2 separate regions of the Homo sapiens genome follow, and region 1 is linked to region 2. The links are contacts of gene promoters, found by promoter capture Hi-C in human tissues and cell types (Jung and others, 2019). All regions are on one chromosome and are shown on one strand. The core of a region is centred on a gene start or on the middle of the fragment in contact, and the rest is flanking DNA. Distances in the headings are between cores, read along the strand shown. Region 1 overlaps ZSCAN5A-AS1 (ZSCAN5A antisense RNA 1). Region 2 holds the start of ZNF749 (zinc finger protein 749).

Evidence for each region. Contacts are between HindIII fragments. The study calls those that stand out against the background at their distance.
Region 1: a contact is called between a fragment that was not itself captured here and the fragment with the promoter of ZNF749 in region 2, in 1 of the 25 tissues and cell types used here (aorta).

What each region holds. Positions count from the first base shown.
Region 1 is chr19:56,324,206-56,327,083 of GRCh38, reverse strand. All of the region lies in intron 1 of ZSCAN5A-AS1 (ZSCAN5A antisense RNA 1), which reads right to left. It also overlaps a transcript of ZSCAN5A not described here. Among named protein-coding and RNA genes, the nearest start is that of ZSCAN5A, 11 kb to the right of the region's middle. The HindIII fragment of the contact is 7,309 bases long and covers 1-2,878 here.
Region 2 is chr19:57,434,055-57,436,800 of GRCh38, reverse strand. It overlaps ZNF749 (zinc finger protein 749), which reads right to left and starts at 1,476. Exons shown (of 3, transcript NM_001023561.4): 1 at 1,208-1,476. The coding sequence starts at 1,222. RefSeq lists enhancers at 912-961, 1,592-1,891. The HindIII fragment of the contact is 7,932 bases long and covers 1-2,746 here.

The sequences.
Region 1 (2,878 bases), core at 258-2,757, 1.1 Mb after region 2:
TATCTCTAACAAAAAAAAAAAATCACTGTAGCTTTTCTATATTCATGTAAGTGTCACATGACTATTTTGAGGTTAAGCACAACCTCAACTCGTGAAGGGCATTGTAGGTGGGTCAGCATATAGCACTGAGTGAATGTTTGCTGGATGAGTGAATGATGGGTACAGAGCAAAGTGTAAGGAGTGTCTTTCAGCTGCTATGTTCTGCTCAAGGCTGGTTTCTTTATGTGTTGAAGAGGAAGCCACAGGCATGAAGAAGACTTGGCATGATTGATTATGAGCAGCGCATCAATATGTTGCATATTAGGGCCCATGATGGAAATCAAAGCAGAGGAGACTCGAGATCTAGTGGGATTTGTACCATTAGTGAAGTGGAGGGAGAGATGCCGCACATTTACGTGAGAGCATGTGTGGGTGGGGGTGTCATTTGCAGTTAATCGCCCAGTACTGAAAGGCACCCAGCGGTACACTATGGGAAGTGAAATAAGCCACGCACAGAGAGCCACATACTGCGTGATTCCCATTTATATGTGGAATATTAAAAAGTCAAACTCAGAGAGTAGTAACAGAGAGTAGAATGGCAGTTACCAGGGGTGGAGGGTTGGGGGATTGGGGAGATGCTTGTCTAAGGGCAGAAACTTTCAGCTATAAGATGAAATACTGTTAGAGACCTAATGTATAGCATGGTGAACATAGAGAATCCTAATGTGTACTTGAAATTTTTCAAGAGTTATCTCAAATGTTCTCACCACACACACACACACACACACACACACACACAATGGTAACTGTGAGATGTGGATATATTTATTAGCTTGTTTTAGACATTTTACAATATATACGTATATCAGGCCAGGCGTGGTGGCTCACGCCTGTAATCCCAGCATTTTGGGAGGCCGAGGCGGGCCGATCACGAGGTCAGGAGATCGAGACCATCCTGGCTAACACGGTGAAACCCCGTCTCTACTAAAAATACAAAAAAAAAAATTAGCTGGGCGTGGTGGCGGGGGCCTGTAGTCCCAGCTACTCAGGAGGCTGAGGCAGGAGAATGGCGTGAACCCGGGAGGTGGAGCTTGCAGTGAGCGGAGATCACACCACTGCACTCCAGCCTGGGCAACAGAGCAAGACTCCATCTCAAAAAAAAAAACCACAATATATACATACATCAAGACATCCCATTGTACACTCTAAATATATGTAATTTTTTGTTAATCAAAACTCAAAGCTGGCAAAAGGCACTCAATATATATTGTCTTCTTAATTCTTTAACACCACACTCTAATCCTCTTGAAATATTTCTTGTCATAAAATCTAGGCCCTGAAATCCTGAAAACAGCAACAACAACAACAACAACAGATAACCAGTATATCTGCCTCACTAATCTAATGAATTCTCCCTCCTTAACCCCTTCAAACGCTATTTTTTTTTTTAAGTGTCTACTTCTGGTGATGACAGAGTGACTGGTGCTAGACTGGACTTCCTGATACAGAAAACAACAAACCTGGATGCATTCTATCTGGCAACAGTTTTCAGGCAGGGATAAAAGGTCATGCAAGAGTGAAATTCACACAAGAAGGGAACCTAGCAAGCTAAGCCCCATGACCTCCCTGTTCTCTTTCAGGGGATAATTCCTCTCCCAGTAGATACAACTGGAATCTGGGCCAAACAAAGCAGTCATTGATATGGTTTGGCTGTGTCCCCACCCAAATCTCATCTTGAACTGAGCTCCCATAAAGCGGGACATTAGGAAGGAAGACAGTTTCTGGGGAGGGGCCCCATTCTGTGTGGGAAACGTGTGAGGGGAGAAGAAAAGACACACACACAATACCTTTAAGGGTAAACAACCTTTATCCCACGTAAATGGCAATGTAGATAGAATAAGCAAATTATATAATAAGCAAATGGATATAATAAGCAAATTGCAATGGGGAGGGAAGAAGGGAAAAGATATACATCTATTTACACTCACCAGACTATGGAGGATTCACCACCAGGCTGGGAAGCAACAGCCTAGGCTCCAGAGTCAGACACTCGTCCATGCACAGAAAATGAGAGGTCTCATGAAGCTTCAACGCAGTCTGGGACCCTAGTTCTTTTTGTAAGGAGTTGTTTGACATGAGGCCCAGTCACAAGGGCCCTTCACGACTGGGCTCAAGGAACACAAAAAGGTCAACTTTTTTTTGTGGTTGTCTATTGTTTTTCAATAACTAATGTATAGGAATAGATTGAAATAGACAGTTCTCCAAAACAGTGCTGGGTGAATGCCTCAAGGGGCTCACACAACCTGTTCCAGGACTTGGTGACCATTGTTTGTGGCCATGTTCAATTGAATTCAAACTTAATATTTAACTTTTCCTCCACAGGCCCTCAGAAATTTGTGTCAGTAAATGTGGGAGGGCAGATATCTTTTTGACCTACTAACTTCCTTTTTTTTTTTTTTTTTTGAACATGTACACAGCAGTGGGAATGCCAGTCACATGGGGATTCTATTTTTAGTTGTTTGATGAACCACCACAGTTTTCCATAGTGGCTGTACTAATTTACTTTCCCACCAACATTGTACGAGGGTTCCCCTTACTCTGCATCCTCACCAGCATCCATTATTTTTTGGCTTTCTGATAAAAGCCATTTTAACTGGAGTGAGATAATTTCTCATTGTGGTTTTGATTTGCATTTCCCTGATGTGCTGATGTTGAACAGAGTTTCATATACCTCTTGACCAACTGAAGAACAAAATATGATACATATACACAATGGAATATTATTCAGCCATAAAAAAGAATAAAATGTTATTTGCTGCAACATGGATAGAATTGGAGGACATTATGTTAAGTGAAATAAGCCAGGAATAGATGGACAAATATTCCATCTTCTCACTCA
Region 2 (2,746 bases), core at 227-2,726:
AGTTGTAGGATGGGGCTGAGCAGTCAATCAGTTACTGGTCCGTTCAGCAAACAGGTCAGCCTGCCATATAATGCAGTAAAGGGAGCTTGCTGGAGGCCCTTAACTGTGGTGGAGGATGTGAGAAAGCCCTGCCCAGTTTTGGACCCAGTTGCTGCATGGCCTTATCTTGTTCCCTAAAGAGTGGCCCTCAGGGCCAGCTGAGTTAGAAGGGTGGAGTGACTACAATTATCTCATGCCTCAGTCTCTGTATTCCAGGGCAACTCCTTATCCATCCAGGCCTCTTTTTCAACAGAAACAGACCAGACTCTTAGCCCATATCTGCTCCCTTCTGCAGGGAGTATCAGAGATGCCCTCCCTACCATGGTCTTTCCTCCAAATCTGAGCCCTCCCCTACCTCAGCCCATATGAAAAAACGATGTAGGATTCTTCCTTCTCAATCTGATCCACAGGCCAACTTCTCAAGTGCACAACTTCTAACTCATTTAAAGCTCCAGGCCAGCTACCTTCCCTCACCTTTGGAAATTACGTCCACCTACCCATGTGATGTCGCCCAAAATCCAACCCAGGATCTTCTGTCTGAAACCCGCTCCTTAAGCTGATATCTCTAATTCCATTCTTTCAGATTTTTCAGGCCAAAACAAAACCTATGGAAGACACCATTCACTACCGACTTTCCCTCACAGCTATGTTTGATGCAGCAGGAAATCCTGTTGACCCTATCTCTGAGATCCATCCAGAGTCTCATCACATCTCCCCTCTACTGCAACCCCTCTGGCCCAGCCCTACCATAACTCAAGGGGTCTCCTCAGCGGTCCCCCTGCCCCCGTTCAACATCCTGTTTTCCCCAACTTTAAACTTCTAACTCTGGGCGTGACCCTCCCATTCGTCCTCCCTGCACAGCCCTCTATGGCTCTCTGCGGCTCCACTGCCCTTCCAGGGGAGACTCCGCCTCAACCTCTGCTCCTTGGAGACAAAGACGCTCGGGCTCCCCAGTGCCGCCCGTTCTGCAGTGCCTCCAAGCCCCAGAGACGTGTCGGTCTCCGACGGGAGCTCCCCCGCCTCATCGCACCGCAGTCCCAGTCCCGGGCACCCCACACAAGAACGCCCCTCTCTTAGAGACACAAGGGCCTAACCTGCAGGGCGGCTCCTTGGGACTTCAGCACTGGGAGGAGGGGTTGGGCGGGGCGGCCTGGGACGCTGCACGCACCTCGGTCAGGTTCATCGGCGCGGCCTCCTCCAGTCCACCCAGGGAAGAGCGGGGCGGGAACGGCGGTCACCTGGACGCTGACGGAGGCAGGGGCGCCTGCAGCCGACTCAGCCGATCCGCACTCTAGCCTCTGTGTAGAAGGAACACCGCTTCTCGCGTTTTTCCGCTCTTTCACCTCAGTCCCGACCCAGAGCTCTGGGACCCTCTAAATCAGTGAACAGATCCCTAGGTAGCCATGCTAACGCAACCATGAGGGCGCCGCCAGAAGTCCCGCCCACACAATTGAGACCTCATTAGTCGTCTCTCTGCTAGACCAATGGCTACACTCGCTGCCCTGCCCCCGCAGTGTCTTCTGGGTAATGTAGTTCTCACGTTGCTGCCTGTGTCGCCCGCAGTGTCTTCTGGGTAATGTAGTTCCCACGCTGCTGCCTGCCTCGCCTCACAATGCTGGGCGCGCGGACCTTACGGAAAAAAGCTGGAGGCTCCTGGAGGAGCGTTAAGAAATGCAGTTCCGGGGCTCTTAAGGACGTGGAGGGGCTTTGCTGACTCCTAAACTGCAAGTAACCAGATTTTCCCGGAGAGCAGTCTAGGACAAGTCTGAGAAATATTTCAGAGACCTGTCGTTTCAGATTCTCTGAAGCACAGCAAGTCCCGAAAGGAAGAACATCAGAAGCGACATGGCTGACCATAATGAACTGGTCCTCCATTCATAGCGGTCAGCTCTTTTGTGCTTGTCAAGTACACACATACTGAGGCTCTGGAGACTTTTTTTTGATCGTTAGTGTGCTTCTGTTGGGACAAGAAAGAAAAGACCCACACAGGATGTGATGGAGAGTTGAAGGAGGAATATCTTTCTGTCGACGAAAAGGGTGGAACTTTGTGAAATAGTTGAAGAGATTTATTCTGAGACAAATATGAGTGACTAATGGCCCATGACACGGCTCCAAGATATCCTAAGAACATATGCCCAGGGTGGCCCATCTACAGCTTGGTTTTAACAATTTAGGAAGACGTAAGACATCAATCAATACATGTAAAATGTACATTGGATTCCTCTGGAAAGGCGCAACTGGAAGGGAGGGGCGGGGCTTCCAGGTCAGGTGGGTTCAAAGATTTTCCGATTGGCAATTGGTTGAAAGAGTTTGTATCTAAAGACCTGGAATCAGTAGAAATGGTTGTCTGGGTTAAGGGGTTGTGGGCCGGGCGTGGTATCTCACGCCTGTAATCCCAGCACTTTGGGAGGCCGAGGTGGGCGGATCACCTGAGGTTGGGAGTTCGAGACCAGCCTGACCAACATGTAGAAACCCCATCTCTACTAAAAATACAAAATTAGACGGGCATGGTGGCACATGCCTGTAATGCCAGCTACTCGGGAGGCTGAGGCAGGAGAATCGCTTGAACCCGGGAGGCGGAGGTTACGGTGAGCCGAGATCTCGCCATTGTACTCCAGCCCGTGCAACAAGAGCGAAACTCCGTCTCAAAAACAAAAAAAGACAAGGGGTTGTGAAGACCAAGGTTATATCATGCAGATGAAGCCTC